3 separate regions of the Homo sapiens genome follow, and all the other regions are linked to region 2. The links are contacts of gene promoters, found by promoter capture Hi-C in blood cells and fetal thymus (Javierre and others, 2016). All regions are on one chromosome and are shown on one strand. Each heading gives the region's core, a stretch centred on a gene start or on the middle of the fragment in contact. The rest is flanking DNA. Distances are from core to core; before and after follow the strand shown. Region 1 holds the start of IQUB (IQ motif and ubiquitin domain containing). Region 2 holds the start of SND1 (staphylococcal nuclease and tudor domain containing 1). Region 3 holds the start of WASL (WASP like actin nucleation promoting factor).

Region 1 (3,362 bases), core at 833-3,332, 4.1 Mb after region 2:
CCCAGCAAAGTGAATGTTTAAAACCAGTGGAATGTTTATTAGTAGCAGAATGTAAGATAAATTATGATTTTGGAGATGGGAGTGTATGAGTGTTTGTAAAATCTTATCTGCACACCTCCACACCTGGTCTACCCATCCAAGAAAGCCTAATTCTAGTGGTTACCTCTATGCCCATTTTTCCCCTTTACTTTTCATGAATGTGTGGAAATGATTAAAATGAATTTACTTTTACTGATCATTATTAAAACAAAGCCAATTTTATCTGAATATATATTTCACTATTCTAGTAAAAATATATTTTAAAATGGGATGACTGAAAAAAATGGCATTGGATATTACAAAGTTATTGGGGAGATGAGAGTGCAATTTCAGCAGAACAGTATAAAGAAATAAATGAAGACAATGAACATTTATGAATAAGGGAATGGACCTGTATTAATTTTATTAATCCTTTTAACATATCAAATCAAATTAAACAGTACTGTAATGGTTAAAAAATCTGGGACCTGGAGTTAGATTGCTTAGGTTTAATCCTGGTTCCCTCATTAAACTTTGTGTGCCTTAGTTTTCTCATTTACAAAATGGGTCTAATAGCAGTTTCTCCCTAATAAAATCGTTGTAAGGATTAAATTAGAAATCTATGTACGGTGCCTCATGACAATGAATACTTCATAAATGTTAGCTGCTATTATGAGATAGCAACATGTAGTTTGTTACTAAATTTCCAAGAGGAACATACTTGACTTGACCTCCAATACTATCCTGTGGTTCTTTAAAAGTTTTCTTATTCATTGATAGGCCGGGCGCGGTGGCTCACTCCTGTAATCCCCAACACTTTTGAAGGCGGATTGCTTGAGGCTAGGAGTTCCAGATCAGCCTGGCCAACATGGTGAAACCCCATCTCTACTAAAAATACCAAAATTAGCCGGGGGTGGTGGCGGGCGCCTGTAATCTCAGCTACTCAGGAGGCTGAGGCAGGAGAATCGCGGGAGCCAGGGAGGTAGAGGTTGCATTGAGCCGAGATCGAACCACTGCACTTCAACCTGGGCGACAGAGCAAGACTCTGTATACACTAGAAAAAAAAAAAAAAAAAAGAATTTGTTGTTAGACAAAATTTAGTTTATTAACTAATTTAGTGATTAACAAAAGTTCTTCTAAGCAGAATTATTTGATAGCTACTATCTCCCTTTTCTCTTTGGCTGCCAGGAAGCTGAGAGCCAAGTTGTTAGTTTAACAAAAGCAAGTAGGCACCTGACAGTTTCTCGCCTCTGACTTCATCGTGATGATTTCTCTGACTCGGATTTTTTTTATATCTGTAAAATTAAACTGCTGTCAGTGTTTGGTTTAGAGAGCTGTGCCGTTTCACAAGTGTAAAAGATCTTGGAGAGAAGTTAGTGTCCTGATTCACTTGGATCTAGGTAGCCAGTTGGTAACAGCCTCCGCCTCTGGCTCCTCCCCTTCTCCCTGCCGCGTCCCTCCTCCCCGCCCCTTCGCCTCTGGCCCCGCCCCTTCTCCCTGCCGCTTCCCTCCTCCACGCCCGCTCGCCTCTGACTCCTCCCCTTCTCCCTGACGCGTCCCTCTTCCTGTCTCTTCGCCTCTGGCTCCTCCCCTTTCTCCTGCCATGTTTCTTCTCCCCGCCCCCTCGCCTCTGGCTCCTCCCCCTTTTCCCTATCGCGTTCCTCCTTTGCAGCCCCCATCCCCCTCCTCTGGCTCCTCTTCTTCCCTACCGCGATCCTCCTTCCAGACCCCGGCCCCCAGCCCGCCTCTAGCTCCTTCCCTTATTTCCTGCCGCGCTCCTCCTTCCCGACACCGCCCCTCCGCCTCTGGCTACTCCTCTTCTCTCCTGCCGCACTCCTCCTTCCCGGCCCCACCTCCCCGCCTCTGGCTCATCCCCTTCTCTTCTGCCGCCCTCCTCCTTCCCGGCCCCGCCCCCAGTCTTTGGCTCCTCCCCCTACCCTGCCGCGCTCCTCCTTCCCGGCCCCTCCCCGCTGCCCTCTTCTGGCTCCTCCCCCCCACCCGCCTCTGGCTCCTCTCCTTCCCACCCCTGCCGTGCTCCGGCAGGAAGAGGTGGTGCCAGGGCCGTTGCTAGGATACGACCAACAGCTGAGAACGCGGCGAGTATGGAAGCTGCGTCTTAGGAGCCTGGGAAAGCACTTCGACGAGAATAGTTTGGTTTCGTACACAGGTAGGAGAACAGATTTTGACTGCGGCCTCCTGGTCCGACGCTTAGATCCAGCCTAGAGCCGGTGACAGCCGCGCTGGACTCTGGGTTCTGTGTGCTGGGCAGTGATTCCCACCTGAGCGCCTGGGGCTGCCTAGTCGGTCAGGAATGTTCCGACTTTACTTTAAAAACCGTGCGAAGCATCTCATCTTTCTCGGCTCCTTTTTTGGCTTCCCCTCTCTGATTTGGGACTTGAACCAGCAGCATCAAGCTAGGAGGTACACCTCACCTCACACCCTGGGTGCTTGTCACGGTAATTGCATAGAAGATGTGTGTATAACCCACACCTGGCACTAGAGACTCTTAGCCTTCCGTGGCCACCATTCTCATATTAAGTCGAGAGATTTTAGACTTTCCTCACCTGGCACTCTCACTCCTTCCTCTCCACCCTTGGTCTTTGCCTCTTAACAAACCTAAAAATTCAACAGATCTATTTGGTAGAAGGCAATACTGGATCCCTGCCTCACTAATTATACTACATTCTAAATGTGTTAAGCTTTAAATGGTAGGGAATGAAATGTAGGTGAAAAGGGAGACTTTTTTGTATGCAAACATGATAGAGGTTGCTTTTTAAACAATAAGATTTAAACATTTTCATTTGAATAGATAATACATAAAAAAATAGTTCGAATAGTAAAAAGAATGAAGAGTGAAAATCCTCCATCTACCCATTTCTCCCCATCTCCAGGCCACCTTCCACAGGTGTTTTAGACATACGCAAATATGTAGTTACACCTGTAACATTGTGCATACTCTTCTGTGATTGGCTTTTACACTTAAGACTGTGTGTCCAGTTGTTTTCTATCAATATTTACAGATCTGTCTCATTTATGCATTTATGGATGAATTTATGTATTTATGTTTCATTGTGAGAAGGTGTTTCGAAGCATGTCAGGAAATTTGGAAACTCTCATAAGCAAAAAGATTGATAAATGTCACTACCTAACAATCTAAAACTTTTATATAGTAAGAGAAAAACAACATCAAACATACAATGGGAAATATAAGGGCAACACACAACAAAGGGATATTTAATTATTAGGACTCATAAAACAATATGAGGATGTAAGGAAACAGTCAAGGGGAACTTCTTGGGGCTATAATAGAAAACAGTTTGATGGAATTTAACAAAATTAAGATC
Region 2 (3,654 bases), core at 321-2,820:
CTTAAGAAATGAGCACATGGGAATTGGGCGAGGGGATCTTAAAATCAGCTTTACACACACATAAGCTGCAGAACATTTTAATCTTGTGAAAGATAACAGGGTAATAAAATAGAATTTTTTTTAAACTGGGTCTTGCTATGTTGCCCAGGCTGATCTCCAACTCCTGGCCTCAAGCAATCCTCCCACCTCGGCCTCCTAAGTGCTGGGATTACCACCATGAGCCACCGCACCAGGCCTAAAATAGAATTTTTCAAAACTTTCTACAACAGCAAAACTTGTGGAGCCTTGGGAGAAAGTATCACAAAAGATATTTGCTGTTGCAGATACAAATGTCAGAACTGCAGTATGAAACGACATCTAGAAGTTTACAGTCATCATAAACCAGAAAATTGGTAAAACCAAGAAATGTCAGGTTCCAAGATTTGGAAGGGTTTTGGGGAGGACAACTGGGGGCAAGTGATAAACTGAATTTATATTATCAAATTATCATGGAGCTAGGAGTAAATTGTAAAAATAAACTTTGCAGGTTCAAATTCAAAATTGAAGAATTTTCAAAAAGTTGAGGGTATATAAAATCAGGCAGAATCTATAGTGCTATGAGCACTAGACCAGGAATCCGAACACTTGGGCTCTTGCTATGGCTCCAACCCAAACCACCATGTGACCTTAAGCAAGTCACTTGCCTTCTTCAAGCCTATCTCCTTATCTTTAAGGGACGGGAGAACAATGATGATTACTAAGATTCTTGCCGGCCTAACCTTTTAGAAGTCAAAAGTACACAAAGATCAGGAGCTTTCAGGTCGACACAAGAGGTGGAGGGAAAGAGAGGAAAAGAGGGCCACAGAGTGAGAAAACTTGGGAGTCAAGTAACAGCGTTTGTGGGAACAGAAAAGTTTCATGATGGCCAAGTACTAGTAGAGAAGAGCCGATGTCAGGATCTCGAAAAACTACTAACTACTCAGCATATGTCAAAATGAACAGAAAGACGGGGGATGGGAGGACAGATATCAACGAATTGTCTCTGTTAATCAATCAGTAATCGATCTGTCCTGGTAAACAGACAGGAGATCCGAATGCCGCAACCTCGGAAATCACTGTGACCCCTGATGTCAAGGTGTCCGGGAGGCAAGGAACAAGGGGACTCCGTGTCTGCTTCCGTCTAGTGAGAGGATTCGGAGAATCGACGAAAAGTGAGGAAGGGGGCAGAGGAAAGGGGATCTGGGACATGGAGCAGGCTGGCGGAAGGTGGAGTCAATGCCTGACTCCCGCCCGAAGGCAGGCAGAGGGGTCGGTGTCCGGGGCCCGTTCTCACCATCTTGATGATGCCCCGCTGCACGGTGGGGACCGCGGGTCCCCCGGAGGAGCCGCCGCTCTGCGCGGAGGACGCCATGTGTGGAGATGCAAAGGCAACGAGTGGAGCGGCTGGCCGGACTGGAGGTGTCAATGTGGGTGTCGGTGTTGGTGAAAGGGAGTCGAGGCGAGGGGCAGGCTGGCTACCAGCTGCGGACGGTGGACGGGACGGACTCGCCGGGCGCTCACAGGAGCAGCAGCGGGACACGGAGCGAAAGAGACGCGATCTCCGCCGCCGCCACACGTTCTACTCGCCGCGCAAGCGTGCCAGAGCGCCACCGCCCTCCGCCCAATTAGCGCCCAGAGCCCGCCGGCCCTCAGGCCAATAGGCACCCTGCTCGCGGAGCCCCGCCTCTTGGTCCCCAAAACGGTGGTGAGTTCCAGGAAGCGCTGAAAGAGTTGATTTGCAAGGATGGGCTAAATATGGGGCGGGACTTCCGGGGCAGCCGGAGTAGGTAATGTCGGGAGGTGTAGTGGGAAGGAAAGGACACGTCAGCATCTGGCCGCGGGGCGCGGGGGGCCATGGGAGCCCCAGGGGCGGAGCCAGCCGCGCCCTCCCGCCTGACCTCGCCCATGACGTCCTTCCCCGCTGGCCTCAGGGGCGCACACTTGTATACCCACCTAGGTGGGCGCCGCTGTACCCGGGAATGCGGCCTGGGAGGGTGGAGCCACGCAGGCAGAGTCCTGGAGGAATCTCCGTACCCGCTCCACTCGACTTCCGACATTTTACCTTGGCTAAAAGTATGGAGAGAACTTGGAAAATCAGAGCTTTGTGGAACCTCCTACCGATGTGGGCTTTGACCTGCCACGCGGCCGCGCGCCCTTTTTGTAGTCAGAGAGTGTGCCTCGCCCTTGTTTGTGTCGCTGGGGTCTAGCACTTGTGAGGCGTTCCATTAATGTTTGTTGGTGGGAGGAATAAATGTCTCAGAGGAAGGACATGCCACGTATACAGGGGAGAGTGACCCTCGTTCTTCGGTCTCTTCCCAGCTGCTCCCGTGACGTTAGGGAAAAGGCTCGCTTCACGCTCTCACCCGACCCAGTGTGAAGCGCCTCCAGCCACCGGATACCTTCCCTAGCCCCAGTAAAAAGGTCGGGGAAGGAACGGGAAAGCCAAGGCCTACAAATATTTAAGTGACTGTTTAGCGAGAACTAATATTCGTTGAGTGCCCACTATGTGGAACCAAGGACCTTGCATGTGTTATGTCATTTAATCGTAAAACTTGGCTCTACACTGAAGACAGTACTTCCCTTGCAGTTCTTTTTGTTTCTTTGGTTTTGTGGCTTTTTTGAGACAAAGTCTCGCTCTGTCGCTCAGGCTGGAGTGCGGGGGCACGATCACGGCTCACTGCAGCCTTGACACTCCCAGGCTCAAGCGATCCTCCTGCCTCAGTCTCCGGTGTAGCTGGAGCTGGTACCACGGGTCCGCGCTACCACGCCCAGCTAATTTTTTTTTTGTAGAGCTGAGATTTCACTATGTTGCCCAGGCTGGTCTCCTGGGCTCAAGCTATACTCCTACCTCGGCCTCCTAAAGTGCTGGTATTACATGCATTAACCACAGTGCATGGCCCCTTGCTCTCTTAAAAGATTGTAAGTTTATTCTCCCACACTAAACATATCCCAGGGTTAAGTTTTGAGGTCACCTTCTTAGATCCCTAATTTGCCACCCTTTTCCAAAAAAAAAAAAAAAAAAAAAAAAAACCTCTGTGGAAGTTGGTTCCATCAGATTATACCCCTCTCTATCTCGTGGCTTTTTATCTACCGTACCCCTATTTCTACCGTGTCATTCATTGAAATTGTTAACACTTGGTGCACGGTCTTCAGCCAATAATCCTGAAATACTTCAATATCTACGAGCATGACTTATCCCATACCCTGACCTCTTTGCTCCTTGATCTCATCTTCAGTAAACTTGACCTCTGCACCAATTTAGGACGTTCTCCAGACAGATAAAACACCATAACTTCATAGGTACGATTGTAAACTCAAACACTTTGTCTTTGATCATAACTGCTGTCCTCTCTCCCTTCTCATTCAGTTAATTATCTTATATCTTGTATTAGTTACATAACAATTTGCCCCAAAACTTAAATACTAAAGAAAACAATAAGCATTTATCTCACAGTTTTTGTGGGTAAGGAATCTGGGGTGGGTGCCTGCCTTTTCCTCCAGGTCTTCTCTTATAAAGCTGCAGTCAAGGTGTCAAGGGGAGTTGGGAAGGGGACTGTGGTCTCATCTGAAGGTCCTCCTCTGACTGAAGGTAGATTGCTTCCCAAGCTCACTCATAGTTGCTGACAGAATTCAGTT
Region 3 (3,355 bases), core at 750-3,249, 3.9 Mb after region 2:
AACCACTATGTATCAGGTACTTTACATGTGATACCTTTTTTTAATGTCTTATAATTTTAGTTTAAAAAAATTTTAATACACAATAACTGTACATATTTATGGGGGTACATAGTGATGTTGCAATACATATAACATATAGTGATTAGGGTAATTAGCATATCTATCATCTCAAAAACTTATGTCTTTGTTTTGGGAACATGCAATATCCTTCTTCTAGCTATTTGAAACTATACAATATTGTTAACTATAGTCATCCTACAGTGCTACAGAACACTAGAACTTATACCTCCTATCTAGTTGTAATTGTGTATTTTACAACTTTGAAGTAGGTGTAATTATCCCTATTTAGACTATACCTGTATGAAACAGAAATTATTTTCATTTTACAGATGAGGAAACAGACGCAGAGAAGTAATTTGTCCAAAGTCCATAGGGTTGTAAGACTCATAACAAGAACTACAACTTGGGCCTATCTGAATCTTATACTTCTGGTACTATACTTGTTCACAGGTTTGAAAAGAGCTTTAATTTCTATTATTTCTCAAGAATTTGTAATGCTTTCTCTTGTCACTGTGCTTTCAACTTAGAGGAGTTGCAGTTTTGATAAAAGACAAACTGATTTAGCTTCTAGGTTTGTTAAATATGTAATTCAGAGGCAACTCCAGGCTTATATTTCTACGACTGCTTTCTAAATCTAATTATTTTATAAATAGTCCTGTTGCTTTAATTCACTTTTTACCCTAACATAATTAATCAAGTTTAACTTTGAAATCTCCATATTTTATGTGAGAACTCCCAAGGCTATCCACTTTTATTTTCCTTTGTAAATTTATTGTTGCTCAGCCTATTTCATTAATGGCAGCTTTAATTATAATATTTTATTATATTTTCAAAGTGCATGATAATGGTTTACCAGTCTGGTTAGTACATCAGAGATTTCTATTGGGAGCTATCAGAGATGTTAACATCCAACAATTTTACCAAAGTGTAATTGTTATAGACGTCTTAACATGAATTTACGCAACAAAAATATGTTTAATGTGGAGAACAGTGAGATGCATATTTGATAATTCACTGCAGTCTGCATCATCATCTCTATATTCCAAAATTTCGTCTTAAGCCGTTTAGTATTTAACTTACAGAAGAAAGGGGGTTATCTTAGATAACTTTTAATATCCTAAGGTATTTTCCAATTCACGATACAGGGAGAAAAGAAATGTGTCCAGGCCCTTAGAAGAAAATACTTTGAATTTAAATGTGACACATACATTAAACCCGCGTGACACGCCAGGCAGGCGGTGGAAGTCAAGTGCATTTGTTTTTGTTTCATCCACCAGGGCGATCTCTTTCACAATTCTGGGAGAGGCCTGTTTGTTCCTCCACTCCCACAGCTGAAGTTTGGGACAAAGTTTGAGAAAATCCCAGGCACCTGCGGCTCCTATCGAAGCCGGCGAGGAGCACAGGGTAGAGCGTCTCTTCCCAGTTTTCAGTCTTCAGATCGCAGGCCTCTCGGACCCGCAGAGCGAGCTTCACGCTGCAGCGCTTGAGAAATAAGAGCTATTCCAAGGAGGGGCCCTGGGTCCTCACTGACGCTTCGCAAAGGTGTACGTCCGCCCAGGGAAGGCCGGCGGCGCAGCGACGGCGAGGAGTCCCCATCCATCTTCTCTTCAAGCAGCAGTAGCTGGGTTCGGGTACCCAACCGACGAGCCGAGACGCCAGAGGCCAGAGTACGAAGTTGGAAGCCTGCGCCCCAAGCCAACCGGGATTCCACTTAGCTCCGCGCGGTCCGCGCCTCGGCCGGAAGGGGGCGTGGCTTCGGGCCCGCGCCGCGAGGCCCGCCGCCGAGTGGGGGGGTTTCTCCCGGGCCGCAGCCGCGCGTTTCCGGCGCGCTCCCCCGCGCCCTCCGTCCTGTGGTCTCGCCCGCCCCCGCTGCCATGTTGGATTGTGCGGCCGCCGCCGCCGCTGCGGGAGGGTTGGGGGAGGAGTTGGGAGTTTAGCGCAGTCGCCGGAGTGCGAGGACAACGACCATCCGGCCCTAGCCTGGCCGGGCGGGTGCCGGGAGCTTCCCTTTCTCAGCGCGGCGCGAAGGTGGCTCGCCGTCAGCGCCTGCTTCCCTCGACCTCGTCCTCCTCCCCGCTCCGGAGGAGCTGCGAGATGTGGCGCCTCTGACTCCACTTCTCCCCGCCCCTGTCACCGAGAGGGGGAACGAGCTCTCGCCCACTCGCCGGAGGAGACGGCCCTGGACTCCCAACCCCGCCGGCGAAACCATGAGCTCCGTCCAGCAGCAGCCGCCGCCGCCGCGGAGGGTCACCAACGTGGGGTCCCTGTTGCTCACCCCGCAGGAGAACGAGTCCCTCTTCACTTTCCTCGGCAAGAAATGTGTGGTCAGTGGACGAGACCCGCGTCGCCACCCGTGACATTACCTCACGGGCCCGGGCTTGGGGGCCGGGAAGTGGGAGTGGGGAAGGAGGCGGGAGCGGCGCGGGCCAGGCCTCCCGCCAGCCCCGGCCCCGGCCCCGGCCCCTCGTCGGCGCCCTCGCCCTGCTCCCAGGGTGCGGGCCGTGGCGGTCGGGCGCCGCCTTCCCGAGCTGCTGGAGAATAAGGGAGTGTCACCTCCGCAGGCCTGTCCTCCAGCCTGGCCGGGCCTCGGCCCGCGCCCTTGCTGCTGGTTAAAACTTTATTCTCAGGCCACAAGGGGATTTTCTTGCAAGAGCCGCTTGGTCCTAGAATCTGGGCCCTTGTTCTAGCTCTCGCTTCACCTCTTACTGCTTGATCTGGGGGTACGTTCCTTAACAATGCCAGGTTTGAGGAGTGGATAGGTCGGGGAAGGAAGGTGGTTTTTAATCTCCCATTAGGATTCCAGGAGGGAATGAAGTCGAGTGCAAGAGCCTGGGCTCTCTTCGGATTAGAGAGGGTGCAAGAAATGTTATTGCTCTTCGTTAAAGAGAAACAAGATTTATTTCTCTAGCAACCTTGCCTAGGCCTGGTTTCTACTCTCCTTCCCACTGATTTTTTTTTTCCCCCCATTGGTGGGAGGGGGTGCTGCTCTCCCCGCAGCCATGCGCAGGGAAACCTCAATCTCTGGTAGCTCTTGGCTTTTGGGGCCGAGAATGATTCTTAGTTTGGTGCTGTGCGGCCAATTCCAACCCCAGATGGCCGGTTGGGAGCGAGCAGTTCTGCTGTGGGAAGGGGAATGTGTGTTGTTGACGGAAGCATTCATTACATTGGCTGCTGGCAATTCTGGGGGTGGGGAGGTTCTGCTCTGTGGTGTAGGCCTTGTCGGGATCATACTGCGGTGACTGGGTTGAAGTGTGGTTTGTTGAAATACTGGCTGGATCCCTTTCTCTCCACTTTG

Evidence for each region. Contacts are between HindIII fragments. The CHiCAGO score rates a contact against its expected background, and 5 or more counts as called.
Region 1: the fragment with the promoter of IQUB here is called in contact with the fragment with the promoter of SND1 in region 2 in 3 of 17 cell types (non-activated CD4 T cells, total CD4 T cells and naive CD8 T cells); the score reaches 15.7 in non-activated CD4 T cells.
Region 3: a contact is called between the fragment with the promoter of WASL here and the fragment with the promoter of SND1 in region 2, in 2 of 17 cell types (M1 macrophages and M2 macrophages). The highest score is 7.6, in M1 macrophages.

What each region holds. Positions count from the first base shown.
Region 1 is chr7:123,533,315-123,536,676 of GRCh38, reverse strand. IQUB (IQ motif and ubiquitin domain containing) reads left to right here and starts at 2,082. Exons shown (of 13, transcript NM_178827.5): 1 at 2,082-2,185. LOC124901740 (a long non-coding RNA gene) reads right to left here and starts at 2,146. Exons shown (of 2, transcript XR_007060507.1): 1 at 1,252-2,146; 2 at 418-1,072. RefSeq lists an enhancer at 1,196-1,335 and silencers at 1,406-1,535, 1,616-1,765, 1,786-2,015. The HindIII fragment of the contact is 3,094 bases long and covers 1-2,719 here.
Region 2 is chr7:127,650,110-127,653,763 of GRCh38, reverse strand. SND1 (staphylococcal nuclease and tudor domain containing 1) reads right to left here and starts at 1,570. Exons shown (of 24, transcript NM_014390.4): 1 at 1,313-1,570. The coding sequence starts at 1,390. SND1-DT (SND1 divergent transcript) reads left to right here and starts at 1,932. Exons shown (of 2, transcript NR_186577.1): 1 at 1,932-2,091. RefSeq lists enhancers at 1,352-1,531, 1,356-1,974 and a silencer at 1,772-2,021. The HindIII fragment of the contact is 9,151 bases long and covers 1-3,654 here.
Region 3 is chr7:123,747,647-123,751,001 of GRCh38, reverse strand. WASL (WASP like actin nucleation promoting factor) reads left to right here and starts at 1,999. Exons shown (of 11, transcript NM_003941.4): 1 at 1,999-2,384. The coding sequence starts at 2,268. WASL-DT (WASL divergent transcript) reads right to left here and starts at 1,807. Exons shown (of 1, transcript NR_170281.1): 1 at 21-1,807. RefSeq lists silencers at 1,717-2,036, 2,497-2,586 and enhancers at 1,615-2,269, 3,029-3,078. The HindIII fragment of the contact is 6,394 bases long and covers 1-3,355 here.